Linked DNA regions of Homo sapiens: regions 1, 3, 4 and 5 are each linked to region 2. Evidence: promoter capture Hi-C in 16 types of primary human blood cells and fetal thymus (Javierre and others, 2016). All regions are on one chromosome and are shown on one strand. The core of a region is centred on a gene start or on the middle of the fragment in contact, and the rest is flanking DNA. Distances in the headings are between cores, read along the strand shown.

What was found. Contacts are between HindIII fragments. The CHiCAGO score rates a contact against its expected background, and 5 or more counts as called.
Region 1: a contact is called between a fragment that was not itself captured here and the fragment with the promoter of ARL14EP in region 2, in 4 of 17 cell types (M0 macrophages, M1 macrophages, M2 macrophages and 1 more). The highest score is 7.9, in M0 macrophages.
Region 3: a contact is called between a fragment that was not itself captured here and the fragment with the promoter of ARL14EP in region 2, in 7 of 17 cell types (monocytes, M0 macrophages, M2 macrophages and 4 more). The highest score is 17.0, in monocytes.
Region 4: a fragment that was not itself captured here is called in contact with the fragment with the promoter of ARL14EP in region 2 in 2 of 17 cell types (megakaryocytes and endothelial precursors); the score reaches 8.4 in megakaryocytes.
Region 5: a contact is called between a fragment that was not itself captured here and the fragment with the promoter of ARL14EP in region 2, in 1 of 17 cell types (endothelial precursors). The highest score is 6.8, in endothelial precursors.

What each region holds. Positions count from the first base shown.
Region 1 is chr11:30,941,801-30,944,500 of GRCh38, reverse strand. The region is part of intron 21 of DCDC1 (doublecortin domain containing 1); the gene reads left to right. Among named protein-coding and RNA genes, the nearest start is that of LINC02859, 210 kb to the right of the region's middle. The HindIII fragment of the contact is 2,257 bases long and covers 216-2,472 here.
Region 2 is chr11:30,321,839-30,324,698 of GRCh38, reverse strand. It overlaps ARL14EP (ARF like GTPase 14 effector protein), which reads right to left and starts at 1,595. Exons shown (of 4, transcript NM_152316.3): 1 at 1,497-1,595. ARL14EP-DT (ARL14EP divergent transcript) reads left to right here and starts at 1,753. Exons shown (of 2, transcript NR_187437.1): 1 at 1,753-1,781. RefSeq lists a silencer at 1,366-1,495 and enhancers at 1,566-1,815, 1,328-1,933. The HindIII fragment of the contact is 9,349 bases long and covers 1-2,860 here.
Region 3 is chr11:30,923,495-30,926,300 of GRCh38, reverse strand. DCDC1 (doublecortin domain containing 1) reads left to right here. Exons shown (of 39, transcript NM_001387274.1): 23 at 893-992. Among named protein-coding and RNA genes, the nearest start is that of LINC02859, 190 kb to the right of the region's middle. The HindIII fragment of the contact is 1,036 bases long and covers 854-1,889 here.
Region 4 is chr11:30,854,229-30,857,158 of GRCh38, reverse strand. The region is part of intron 3 of LOC107984419 (a long non-coding RNA gene); the gene reads left to right. Among named protein-coding and RNA genes, the nearest start is that of LINC02859, 120 kb to the right of the region's middle. The HindIII fragment of the contact is 3,945 bases long and covers 1-2,930 here.
Region 5 is chr11:30,872,966-30,875,670 of GRCh38, reverse strand. The region is part of intron 38 of DCDC1 (doublecortin domain containing 1); the gene reads left to right. The region is part of intron 1 of LOC124902656 (a long non-coding RNA gene); the gene reads right to left. Among named protein-coding and RNA genes, the nearest start is that of LINC02859, 140 kb to the right of the region's middle. The HindIII fragment of the contact is 947 bases long and covers 807-1,753 here.

The DNA of each region.
Region 1 (2,700 bases), core at 95-2,594, 620 kb before region 2:
TGGAAAGCTTTCCATATAAATAAACTGTGATTAGGAAATGTGACACTCATATTGTGGCATTCAGAATACTTTGGGTACTATAAGCATAAATAATAATTTTATACCGGATTTAAGTTTCCAACTTTACTATTTATCTAACCATTATGTCTTACATATTTAGGCAATGCAGACAGAGCAAGGAAGGAGATAGACTTGGTTCCTAAGTTCATGAAGCTTACAGATTAAGAAGTATAAGCTATGAGTCAACAAGGAAGAAACAAGAAAAGGAAGGAGACAGAGTTGATGAATAAAGGAGAAGGAAGGGAGAGAGAAGAAACTCACAGAAAAAGTTTGGTGTTCCAGAAATCAAGGCTATGCATTGAGCCAGTTTATTTAGTCATATAGTCACTGTGAAGAAAGATCAGCTGGGCTGATTGTCCAAATGGGCCTGAAAATTAAGTAAAAATACTAAATCTAGGAAAACCATCTAACAAACAACACCCTGAGTGAGACTCCAATTCTCCTGTTAGTTCCTTGACAAGAAACTTTCAAAATAGAATGATGACTAAGGAAGTATGAACAATATAGAAATATGGAATTATCTTGGTAATGTCTCAGACTGCATTAATACTAAAAACTATGTACCTCTCAGTGGTGACAGCTGCTTTGAGAACTGATTTCATGCTGTCCTCACTTTTAAATATTATTCATACTAAAAGGCAATTGATAATATTTTTATGAACAAACAGCATTTAATATATCTAGGGATATCAGTATTTTTTAAATATGGTAAAGCCTTATTGAAAACCAACATTAATAAATTCTTTTGGTTTCTTTTGTGACTAAGTTCACTGGAAAAAATTAGAGGAACTCAAGTTATTTTCTCACTCTATGGGGGAAAAGTTGTGAATTGAAAAATTGTGCTTCTAAACACTTAAAGGTAAGGAGCAATGGATTTTCATATTCAAGGAAGGAATTGTGGTAAAAAGTAAGATTAAAAAGATGTACGATTTTGGAATGAGCTGTTGGATAGTTATTTTAAAGTATCTAAATTAAAATATATCCATTTGGACGGGCCATGCCAGACAGAACAAAGCTAAAAGTTTATTACTCTATTGAGAGATGATAATAAGTAGCTACCAGAATAAAGAGGGGGGAAAAGGAGACGTGGGAAGGCTCAGGAGAGAACATTGAAGAATATATTATATTGTTAATAGCAAATAGATAAAAGAGGACTAATATAGCTATGAAACTTAGATTGCTGGTTAAGAGCTGGACTCCCAAAACGAACACATGCTCTCTCTCTTATGAGAGAGAGATAAAAAAAAAAAGAAGAATGATCAATTTAAGGGAGCACCACAGCTCATCTAGGGTCTCCCGACTGTGGAGCTGTGACATAGAGCAGTGTGAACACAGAGAAAACCAATAAAGACATGCATGGGAACATAAGAATTCCAACTGAGAAAATGGAGGGAGAAGAACCAGCACTCCAGTCAGTTTAATTACATATCTGTACTTTTTGTTGTCCTTCATTATCCCAACGCCTTATTTCTCTATGTCTATGAAGGACAGAATGAAAGTGCCTGAAACACCAGAACGAGAATTAAAGCAGCTTAAAGGAAGAACCGACAGTAGTAGTTAACATTTGTAAAGTTTTGAAACCCAAGTTAACGTTTTAATCTCATTTAATTGGGTTTCTGTGATGTCTCACATTAAAAAGAGAAGACTCTTGGGCTTCCTTCGTCTAACTGGAAAGTAAAAGAAGCCATCCAAAGACAGCAGTGCTTCAGTAGTGCCAAAGCCAATGTCTGCAGATGCTACCATTTGCCATGGGACAAGTTGGAAGTGAGAAAATGTAGAAATAGCTAGGAGCTAAGACAGCACACTTCAGATATGTTCATCAGAAATATAGCATACTTGGGATATTGAAAAGAACAGTTACACACCCTGAATCTATGAATCGACATGTATCACAGACAAAGCATGAAGGAGAATCTTGTTTCTTTTGCCTTTCCCTGCCATGGTTCAGAAAGAAAGAGATATATTAGCTATTTTACACCAAGACTTCAATGCAACAGTAATTTTCTAATGAGATTCCCTCACCATCTCTCTCACCTACCCAACCCTTGCTTCATGATCTTTTATGACTGAAACTAGTATAAAAGTTGATTTTCTCCATCAACTAAATTGTTCAATATCTCCGCTATAGAATAGTTACAGACAAATCCCAAACATACTTATTGAAGTTATGTGACTCCATCCCACTACTTCCCTTTATACAACAGGCCAATTTCAAATAAAAATATACAATGAAGTTGTCATAACCTTTGATAATTTATTCTCAGTAACCATAATAAGAAAAAACAGCCCCATGTTGCTCCATTCATAGATAGCAGACACTTATCTAAATAAACACTTGATCATCTACCCTCTGCAATATTATTTCTGTACTGGTGAAAGTTTCTCAGTGAGGTTTAGGAATAAAATGAAGCTTCTGTAGTTCAAATTTTTCTTATTTAGAATTGTGTTAAGTCACCCTTATTGTTTGTCGCTGTTGTTAACATGTTTACCAAGCAAGATATTCTAGTAAAAATATAAAGGAAAAAACATTTAAACTGAAATCATTCTGCTCATCTGATTTTTAAACACTTATTTATACTGCTTTTCTCCTAATTAAATGCAATTAATGGTATTTATGCACTCATCTCACAAATTTGTGCC
Region 2 (2,860 bases), core at 346-2,845:
GCATTTTCTCTTGCTGCCCATTACCAAACGGTAAGGAAGGTAGATTAGGTTGAGGAAGCTGAGAAAACTCACACGCGGCCATGATGCTTGCAAGGTCTAGGACATTATCACAGGGGTTTCGGGGTGTTAATGCAGAACACCCCCCCCACCACTAACAAAACAGCAAAACAGCCACTAACAAAACAACAGCAGAGGGAATTGAGGATTAATTAGGGAACTCACTTTTTCTTCCTAAATTTGTAGGGGAGATGCAGAAATACCCGTTCCAATATGTTAATTTCCCTTAACATAGTTTTTTAGTTTGTTACCAGTCTCCTTATTAGTGGGAAAAGTAACATTTAGAGGAAATTTAACAAAACAAAAAATTTACTTCGTTTTTAGGTCAACTGATGTCTCTTTTATGAAAAACATAAAAAAAGTTTTCATGAAATGTTTTATGAAAAAAATTAAAGGCTTTTCTTGGCATAGGGTCTTACAACTTACACAGCGTCTTCCCAGATTATCTCTTATTTAATAAAAATATAATTTAATCTACCCCTACTCCCCAAATCAGGAGCTTTAGTTATGGGTACATACGCCTACAAAAGTCACGCATCCTGCAACTGTGAACTTTTTGTGCCTGTCATCTTCAAATACTGATTACCTATAACATGACAATTGGCCCAAAGGCAAAGAGGAGAGTCTCAATCCTCAGGAAGATCTAGGTACAATAAGAAAGGTAAAGGCAATTTAAAACAAAAATATAGTCCATAACACCATTGAAAAGATTTGGTTCAAGTGTGGTAGTCAGGACATGCCAGGTACAGTGCTTAGGGCAAACATCATTTCAGGAACCTTCATAGCCACCCTGAGGAAAGTACTATCATTCTCATTTACAGATGAAGAAACTCAAGCCTAGAGCTGTTGTTATCATGCCTAACAGAGTGCCCCCAAACCCTGCAATGATTCCCAACCCAACCCTGTAAGAGGCCACATACATTTCTTCCTTAGTTCACGGCTATTTACAAATGACTAAAACCACCAGATCCGTCCAGTGGGCACCTACTAAGTTCATGGTACCGGGATGGAAAAATAAACATTAGCCTTTGGCCTCAAACGGCCAGGGTTGAAAGGATTCTGATTTGAAAAATTAAAAACAAAAATAGCAGAGATAAAGGCTGTCTACGGAGTTCAAGGCCACAATAACCCTAAGTAGTTCACGTCAAAATCGTAGCTTTGAAGGTCCTGGGCCTACAGGACAGGCGACGACCCTCAGAGAGGTCAGAGGCGGCAGAACCTGTGCTGGGCTTTGACACAAGGCGTTGCGTCGCAGATGAACTACGCGGGGGTAGGGGTGAGAGGCCCCGGCCAGCAGCTGGAAATCCCCCTCACGTGTGCGGGCCTCCTCTTCCACCTCTCCCCGGGTTCCCCCGTTACGCCGCCGGGCTCCCTCGCCACCCAGGGGCCTGTCTCCACTCTCCCACTCCTCTCCAGGGCCTCCCCCGTTCCCCTTCCACCTTAGCTTGAGCTCTCCTCCGCCCGGCTTCGGGCAAGATGCGAGTCCACACAGGCCACACTCGACCGACCGCTTCCCAGCCAGTCCCCGCGCTACCACTGAGAGGACGGCAAGCGCGGGCTAGAGGAGCTCAACGCCACCACAAAGAGACGTCCGGGAGAAGCCTAGAGCGGACACGAGGCTGGCCGCCTCCGGGGACGGAAGGGGCGGGGCGGTGTGAAGTGGCAAATGATTCAAGGCGAGGCAAGAGGTGCTTCAGATGCTGTCTTTTGCAGTCCTCCGAGAGGTTAGGGATGTGGGAGGTCCCTGGGGGCCATCTCTTACAAGACACAGTTTCCACTAAATTGGATCGTATTTGTACATCTCTACACCTGTGCGTGATAGTAAACTTTTGCACCCAAATACCCCGACCCCTGAAGGAGAGTGTGAGTTAAAAGGATCTGAAGAACGGACCCTTTGTTTAAGGTCTCACATTCTATTTCTTTAATTCAAGCGAAATATATTCCAAAATGCATCTTTTATTGTAAGCTATAAAAATAGCTATTACTTCGAGTAAAATGTAGGCTCCAGGAAGATGCTTGTAAATTTTCTCAGAACAGAAATGGTATTTTTATTGTATCCTTATTGTCTGTCACAGTATAGGTGCTCATTAATTTTTAAAGTGGGTTTTATTATCTAGAATCCAGGAGAACTGAAAGTCTCTTAAAGATTCTTGGCCTTTTAATTATCTTAAGGTCGGGATAGCAGGGAAACAAAAACTTGTTTTAAACTCCCAGTGAAAAATGAGGAACAGGTAAATAAGACAAGCCCCACCAAGGCCCAAGCGTGCTAGTAATTCTCTGCATCTACTGTAAGCTGTTTTCTGCAGTGCGTCTATGGTCCTCCCACCACTTTCATACTGCTCGCCGACTAGGCAAGCGATTTGATGCCTAGAACTAGGGAATGACAGAAAGGAAAAAACAATGAATAGTTTCTTCAACTGTGTCTGCAGGAGGTTGCATTCTGTAATTCTTTTACTGTTTACTTTGTGGTTGGCACTTTGTTAAGCAATGATTAGACAAAAACAAAATTTATTTCTGCTTCCAAGGAGCTCACAGACTAGTGAGAGAGGAATAAACAGTTAATCACAGTGTGGTGTGAAAAGTGTCATAACAGAAACACATGGATATAAACAGGATAAAATGATAGGGGCTAAAGCAGGAGCGTTCTGGGAGGAGATTAATGCCTGCATGGAACTTAATTTGATGCAATTGTGACTTCCTAGTAAACTAGGCAAGCTATCCTAAAGGTAATGAAACAGAGAAGGCTCACAGATCAAATTAAGATTATTAAATAATATAGCCTATTCAATTTAAGTATCCAGTG
Region 3 (2,806 bases), core at 122-2,621, 600 kb before region 2:
TCAGTTTCATCTGGTCCATACCCTCCTCATGTCCATACACTCAGCTCCAGTCTAGCGCTTTTTGATGAAATCCTGTTTATCCTTTAAAACCCAACCCAAATGCCACTCCCTTAGATAAGGCTTCTCTGGAAAAATTGTTTTCCCCTCTGTTCTCACAGCACGCTGGGCAGGTGCCTATGGCAGCACCTACGACTTCATATTACACTTCAATTGCTCACCTTTCTCTACCCTGACCAGACTCGGAGCTCCTCAGGGAACTACAAAACTGTCATCATCTCAATATCCACAGGGCTTGTCCGGTGCTTGTTTGGGAAGGCAGGGGGTTGTGGGAGTGGGAAATCAGTGTTCAGTGTTTAACCAGGCTAAAAACGTCTGTTTCAAAGGTAGTTGAAACAGACTACCCTCTGGTGGAGGGAGCTGAGGAACTTGGTGACAAATTAGACTTTGACAACCTTGGAGAAAGAACAAGACTACATCAGAAAAAGCCAAGGAAAAATTTTTTTAGGTAGGAGAAAGAACGCAGGCACAGAAATAGAAAAGTGTGGGGCATACCAAGGAACTAAAAGTCAATAGCAGTGTGTCTAGCTATTTATTGGTCATGTCTGGGACTGTGCTAAGAGCTCTTTTCAAAATCAACCTTTAATCTTCACAGAAACCCTGGAAGGTAAGAAATCTAGCCTTAGACAGGTTAAATAATTTGCCCAAGTGCCACAATTTGGAGAGGAAAATGAGACTCAAATGGGTCTGATGGGCCCCAGAGTCCAGCTCATGACTAACAGTCCTGCAGAGAGAGTTGTCATTATGGATTCAGGCCCCAGATTTCTTTTATTTTCTCTCTTTGCTGCTGGAAGCTTTCTGTATGCAAGGTCAATTTTTGTGTCTTTTATTACAGGTGCACTGAGATTTTAAATTTACCTTCTGCAGCTCGGAGATTGTACAATGAAAAGGGGAAGGAAATATTTGCCTTAAAAGACCTGCAAAGAGATGAACTGGTAAAGACATGGATTTGAAACTGGCAATATTAATTTATTAATACCCCATCCAAGAAAGAATCCCCTTAAATATAAGTCTTCAAATGCTTACCATTTTAATTCTTATTTTCTCTCAGAATTATCCTAACTGAGCAAACATCAGAAAGTAATACTAACAGCTAACATTATTCAGAGCTTCCTATATGTCTGGCATGGTTTTCAGAGTGGTATATAAATTAAACTTTTTTTTTTTTTTTGAGATGGAGTTTCACTCTGATACCCAGGCTGGAGTGCAGTGGCGCAGTCTTGGCTCACTGCAACCTCTGCCTCCCATGCTCAAGCAATTCTTCCACCTCAGCCTCCAGAGTAGCTGGGATTATAGGCATGTGCCACTATGCCTAGCTGATTTTTTGTATTTTCGGTAGAGATGGATTTCAACATGTTGCTCAGGCTGGTCTCACACTCCTGAGCTCAGGTGATCCACCTGCCTCAGCCTCCCAAAGTGGTGGGATTACAGGTGTGGGCCACCGCGCCCGGCCGAATTAATCTACTTAATGTTCATCATGATCCTAGACTCTAGAAATTAAGGAAGAAACTGGAGAAGGCCAAATTGTTAATCCTTTGTAATTTCTATCTCCTGCTCTGAAGGAGGTAAATTCTCTACTCTTTTTGAGACCTTCAAAATGTAGTTGTTTAATGGTTTTTTACTAAATGGTAATTTCACTTTTTCAGGACAAAATTATGTCTACTTTTTTCATACACTCTATTTGGTGACTGGAGAAGGCTGAAAAGTGGAAGGACTTTAGCAGCCCAGCCTTCCCCCTCATTTATAGAATTTGAGGCATTGGTTTGAAAAATTAAAAAAAAAGATACCTTCCTTGATTGATGCCTACAATTCTTTGAACAGAGAACAAAGCTTCTACCATTTCGTCAGAACTCAACTGAGGCCCTGAACCTAAATACTGGAGAGAGTCTTAAACAGAAGTATCAATGGCCAACATCAGAGGCAGAATCGCAGGGTGGAGAGTCTGTTGTTCTCAGAGACTGCTAGATCTCATTTTGAATCCTAATGCCATCTCTCCAAGTGTTTTGTTTGTTTGCTTTTAGTGTTTTTGTTTGGTCTGCTGTGCTATTCACTGTGGGTTTTTTAGAGAATGAATTTAAGGTAGATTACATTAAATCATACAATACAAAAAGTTAATTTAATGGTAAGTATAGATGAGGCCACCATGGCAAAGCAGGTATGAGTGGAAGGAGGATAAGATGGAGCCAGGAGTGATTGTATATTTGCTAGAAACTAATCTGTCACTGCTCTGAAGAGTAACATGAAGATGGAAACATAAACAGTTAGTTACATGATTAAATATGTCCAAAAGAGAAAAAGAAATCCGTTGTTCAAAATAAGAAATTTTTGCCTGGGTGCAGTGGCTCATACCTGTAATCCCAGCACTTTGGGAGGCCGAGGTGGGTGGATCACCTGAGCTTAAGAGTTCAAGACTACCCTGAGCAACGTGGCGAAACCCTGCCTCTACTAGAATACAAAAAATTAGCTGGGCATGGTGGCAGGTGCCTGTAATCCCAGCTACTCAGGAGGCTGAGGCACGAGAATCACGAGCCCTGGAGGCAGAGGTTGCAGTGAGCCGAAAGCATGCCACTGCACTCCAGCTTGGGCTACAGAGTGAGACTCCATCTCAAATAATAATAATAATTATTATTATTATTATTTAAAGTTTCCCCTGGGTCTTCATACACAAAATGTCGAATGTTTGTAATAATGACTTTGCAATGATCAGAAAAGGCAGCACTGAGGTTCTCTTTCTTCTTACTGAGCCTTT
Region 4 (2,930 bases), core at 354-2,853, 530 kb before region 2:
CCAACCTTTAGCAAATTATCTGATATCATTCAGTGCCAAGATTCTCATTCTGGTAGTCATTTGCATGAAACATTTTTCGATAGAGATTATACTGCCGGGTTCCATATACTGAGATATACATATACTGAGAGGAAGGGTATATCAAAAGTAGGTTGTGGAAGAGTAGGAAGCATTGCACCTAAACTTCCATGATTAACTCCATGTGTTTTACTCAAAGCATCAGGTTGCTCTTTAGACTTCTTGGTTGCTTTGGAAATTTTGATGGTGCTTTTTGGAGAGTGGCTTGGGAAGCCAAAAAAGAGTTGAGGGCAATTACTGCTTTAACCAAAACAATAGAACAGCAGGAAGTTCAGTGCAGTCCCCTAGCTTCTCCCCTTCTTTACTCATTTAATACTGGAGAAGTCTGTGAATTATGGTATACACTGAATTTCCAACTTCGTGGACATTGGCCCTTTTCATTATCTTAAGCTCTTTTCATTGCTCCGTTTCTGGGCCTTATGGGAAATGATTCAAGCACTCCATGGAAGATGATCAATTCTCAAGCTAACCCCAGGCAAGTATGAAGAATTCTCCCAAAATCACATGATAGCAAGCTGATAAGATTTCTCTCATCTTCAGTCAGTGAGAAGACCAAACTGCTTCAACAAGTTTGCTTCCTCAGGGATGGGTGTGGTGGCTCACTCCTGTAATCCCAGCACTTTGGGAGGCCCAGGCAAAAACATCACTTGAGCCCAGGAGTTCGAGACCAGCTTGGGCAACAGAGTGAAACCCCATCTCAAAAAGAAAAGAAAAAGAAAAAAAAAACAGTTTACTTCCATAGCTGCTACAGCTCTCCTAACAGTCCTAGAACTCTGGAAAGTCAGTAATCACCATAACTGAGTTCACTCTGCCCTTTAGTAACAGCATAATTAATTCTGTTAGGATTACGTCAATGAAAACATGTGTAAAACGGTGTCATAATACTAACTGTAAAATTCAGTGGCAAAATCCAGAGTGTTCTGAAGTAGCAGATCTCTGCTTCTTTAGGGCAAGAGTTCTCTTTAGTTTTGCCCATTCTTTTATCTCGGTCCCTAGCTTAGTGCTCAGCACATGGTAAACAGTCAATAACTACTTTTTGAACATCAGCTTTAACCTAACATAGAGGTGCCTTAAAAATGCCTAATCCTTCAAGAGGTTGTGAAACATCATGTATCTTTAAAATTGTCAGCTACTTTGAATTGTGAAGTCTTGTTTTTCTATTTGCTCCACACCTTAACCCCCTTAGATAAAATAGGCTACTTTTATTTTTCACCAGTTTGTCTTTCCACTACTGTCAATGGTAACTCAAACCTAAACCCTTTGATGGAGATATTTTCTTGTTTTAAATCGCCGCAGATGAAATGTTTAAAAGGAATTCCAAATTTTGGTCTCTTTCAAACTGACTCTGTGCTGAATATGTAACGTTACCTTTTAAATTTAGAGATTTTACTGGCTAAGATTTGTCACTTGGACCTCAAATTTTAGGAAGAAAATGCTAGATTATAATTCAAAAGATCAGTTTTACATTTTGTATGTAATATAGCCCACTAGGTGGCATATGAACACATGGAAAACTCGGTCTATGTATTAAAGATGAATCCAGTCTACTGTTTTAAAAATAGGTTTTAAATCCCGTTGAACTATGTGGTTGTAATAGTATTGAAACTCTTAGCATTTGTGAACTGGAAAATTTGGTGGTGACAGAACTGTGTTTCTGTATTAGATAAGAGATGTTCTAATAGAATCCTGCTGCTCCTTTTGATGGAATACCGTTCTGAAATTGCATCCAAGGATGAAAAAGTTGGTACCGTGGCACCCTGTCAAGTAGCTCCTGTTGCTGTGAGGTGTGATTAAAAGACACATAAGCCAGCAGAAAATGTGACACAAAGGGCATCTATATAAAAAATTAACAGACTACGTGATATCATTTAGGCCAGATTTAGAATCACAATAAAGACCTTGTTTTAGTCTGTTTTGTGCTACTATCACAGAATACCACAGACTGGGTAATTTATAATGAACAGAAATTTATTGGCTCACAGTTCTGGAAGCTGAAAAGTTGAGTATCAAGGTGATGGCACCTAACAAGTGTCTTCTGGCCGCATCATCACATGGCAGAAGGCGAGAGGGTGAGAGACGGAGCAAGAGGAGGCTAAAGGCACCCTTCCTAACAGTACCAATCCCACCATGGAGGTGGAGCCCTCATGGCCCTCAGCCCCCAGTACTGTTATGATAACAATTAAAATGTCAACATGAGTTTTGAAGGAGACAAACATTCAAACCATGGCAGCCCTCTTCCAGCATTCAGCATTTCTGGGCTAAGGAAATGGAAGCAGTTTGGATGAGGAAAGGAAGGCTTCCAGAAGAATCCCTCCTCCAGTGGGAGCAGAGCTGTGCCTGTTAAATGACATAGGTTTCTCCTTGACCAAACTCTACTCAGGCTCTTCTGAACTCTTTTTTTCAACTAGTCCTCTACTTTTGGACTTCTGTGTTCATCTTGGCATTGTCTAGCTCTAGCAAGAACACTGCTGGCCGAGCACGGTGGCTCACGCCTGTAATCCCAGCACTTTGGGACGCCGAGGAGGGCGGATCACAAGGTCAGGAGATCGAGACCATCCTGGCTAACACGGTAAAACCCCGTCTCTACTAAAAATACAAAAAAATTAGCCAGGCTCAATGGCGGGCACCTGTAGTCCCAGCTACTCGGGAGGCTGAGGCAGGATAATGGCGTGAACCCGGGAGGCAGAGCTTGCAGTGAGCCAAGGTCACGCCACTGCACTCCAGCCTGGGTGACAGAGCGAGGCTCTGTCTCAAAAAAAAAAAAAAAAGAACACTGCTAAGTCAGTTCAGCTATCCTCCATCTTTGATCACCTTTAATATCTAATCAGGTTCTTCATGCTCCACCATCCCTC
Region 5 (2,705 bases), core at 31-2,530, 550 kb before region 2:
CTCACTTAGAAATTGTGGCTCGTGGCTGTTGAAGCATTTGTGAGCTAACCTTCAATAATAGCCCAGGTGTGCTGAGTGCCATTGAGAGATTTGTGATTCACCATGGCAGCATTTTTTTTTTTTGCATCATTTGGAAGCGAATGATCAAAACACACAAATCTGCGTCATTTGGAAGCGAATGATCAAAACACACAAATCTGCGTTATTCTAGTACATCACAAAATCAGATGCAAATGTCCCCAGTTATGGGAAATTTAGACTCAGTGGTGACTCTCAGTTGTTTCTATTGAACCGCTGGTTCTGGTTCCCTCCTGGCTTTGAAAATATCTCAACCCCGTGTCCCCTCTACGAGGCTAGGTAAGTAGAATGAAAGAGTAACAGTTTTGTTCTCGACACAGTAAATTAGAATTCTGCATAAATGGCATGGTTTGGGGCTGTGTGGCCATAAGCAACTACAAAGCAAGATCAACAAAGACCACTCAGGAGAAAGCTGATGAAAATAAATGGACTGACCGTGTAACCGTAGGTATTCAGTGGGTGCCTGCTGGCAGCTATAACATTTTCTAATTCTACGAGTCTGGAATATGAAACTACTATCAAGGCTGTCACCCTGTACCAAATGTATAAATAGAAATATATGAGAGAGGAAATACATATGCCCATAGTGCAACTGGGTTGAAGGAGAGAGGAAGAAAGGAGACGAGAAATTCTATATCTATGGCAAGTAAAATGGTGATTCTGAATTGGATGTGCTATTGCTCATTGTCTGTGGTATCCCTCTGTGGGCTTGCAGGCAGATACAAGCTTCAGTCGAGCTGTTGGACCTATCAGGTCCTAGCTTGCCAGTCCTAGAGCAGTAATTTCAATGTAGGAAACTGATATTAGGGTTTTAGCTCAGGTGCACATGCTCAGGAATGTCAGCTGTGTGAGACCAGCTGAGGCAGTTCGGTGGTCATCTCTGGTGCCACCACTGGAAGCTGTGTTTTAAAGGAAATTTCCTGAAGGGCACTGTCCTTTACTCAGTGACTATGCTGGAGAGAGGTGGAGGAGAGGAGGGAACTTCCCAGGGCTCCTAGGTTAGTGCCTCTAAAAATCTAAAATCTGATTATATCTCTGTTCTCATTTCCATTACTTTTTCTCCCTCTTCCCTCCTCCCTCTTCCTCCCTGCCTCTTGGCCTTTTCCCGTCTTCCTGGCTTTTCTCCTCTAAGAGTCTTTAAATCCCATCTTTCATTTAAAAAGAAAAAACTGTTTCCTGGAACAATTTGTGTATTGGCAAGAGATACTTCCTTAATATGATTCTCAAATTTGAGTGTGCACAAGAAACACCTGGTGTGCTAGATAAAATACAGATTTCCAGGCTTGGTCCCAGCACTGGTCATAATCTCTATGCCTAAGGTATAAGGAATCTGCATTTTAACAAGCACCTGGGAAGAAGCACGTCGTGACCACAGTGTAAGAAACTTTGCCAAGAGTTTTAGGCCTGCCAGGGACAGTGCTGTTTATTATCAGCAGGGCATGGCCCAAGTGGTAAGTACCAGTTTTAAGAACAAAGCCTGTATTCAGGGGCTATGAAGACAATGAAACATTTGCTTTGTATGTGAGTATTTGAGTCTAAGTAGCCTCATGTTTTCTCATCACAGTTCCCTTAAGAAATGATGGAAATGTTCTTGAGTCAGATATAACCACCCAGAGATTTTAACTAGGACCCAGACATTGGAAGGCTAAACAAGTGAGTTTGAGGTGCTGAAGCTTTCCATGTTCATTAAGCTGCCTTCAGTGCTGATAAAATCTTGCTATTTTAAAGGTCACAGGAATAATATCAGTGCTGTGGTACATATATCAGGGAGCGGAGTACTTTTGAGGGTGGGGAAAATAACCAGCTTCCTGGAGTTTTCTTATACATTTTTATATGTACAAAGAAGGAGAGCTTTGGAACAAGGAGAGGATTTCTATTTTCCATCATTGCTCTTTCTCCTGTGAAGGAGCTACTTGAACATCTCTTTTCTGTTTGCCCTAAGTCTAGTTAGCAAGGAAGTGTGAGCACCTGCATCCCTGGCAGGCTCACCCAAGAGTGTGAAAATCCACAGGACGTTATTTCAGTTCGGTAACAAATTCTCTTAGAAAAATGAATTTTCAAGATAGTTCTCTTGCCAGACCAATGAAATCCATATAGCTTGAGAGACAGACACTCTCCTTGGAAGACAGACACTTTCCTTGGAAAACAGAGAATACAAAGAAAATTAGTTTTTCTAACACTTAATTCATGTATATACCAGTTTGTTCTCTCTCTCTCTCTCTCTCTCTATATATATATATATATATATGTATATACACACACATTTTTATATATTTATACATTTTTATATACAAATATAAAAGTTTAAATTTTTCCTTGCCTCTTGTTTAGTGTAGTCATTTTGATAGGATAAATCCCATTGTGGATTTTGATTTTTATTACTCTATCTTCTACTACCCCACCCTCTAAGCTAGCCCAGCTAACAGCTTTCCCAATGTTAAAACTGTGCGTGTGTATATATATGCAGAAGATAGAGAGAGAGAGAGAGAGACAGAGAGAGACAGAGAGAGAGACAGAGAGAGAGAGAGACCAGCTTGTATATACATGGTATATGCATGAATATATATATACATGAAAAATATATATTTATATATATATATATTCAGGCAGTCACTGCACTCACTGTT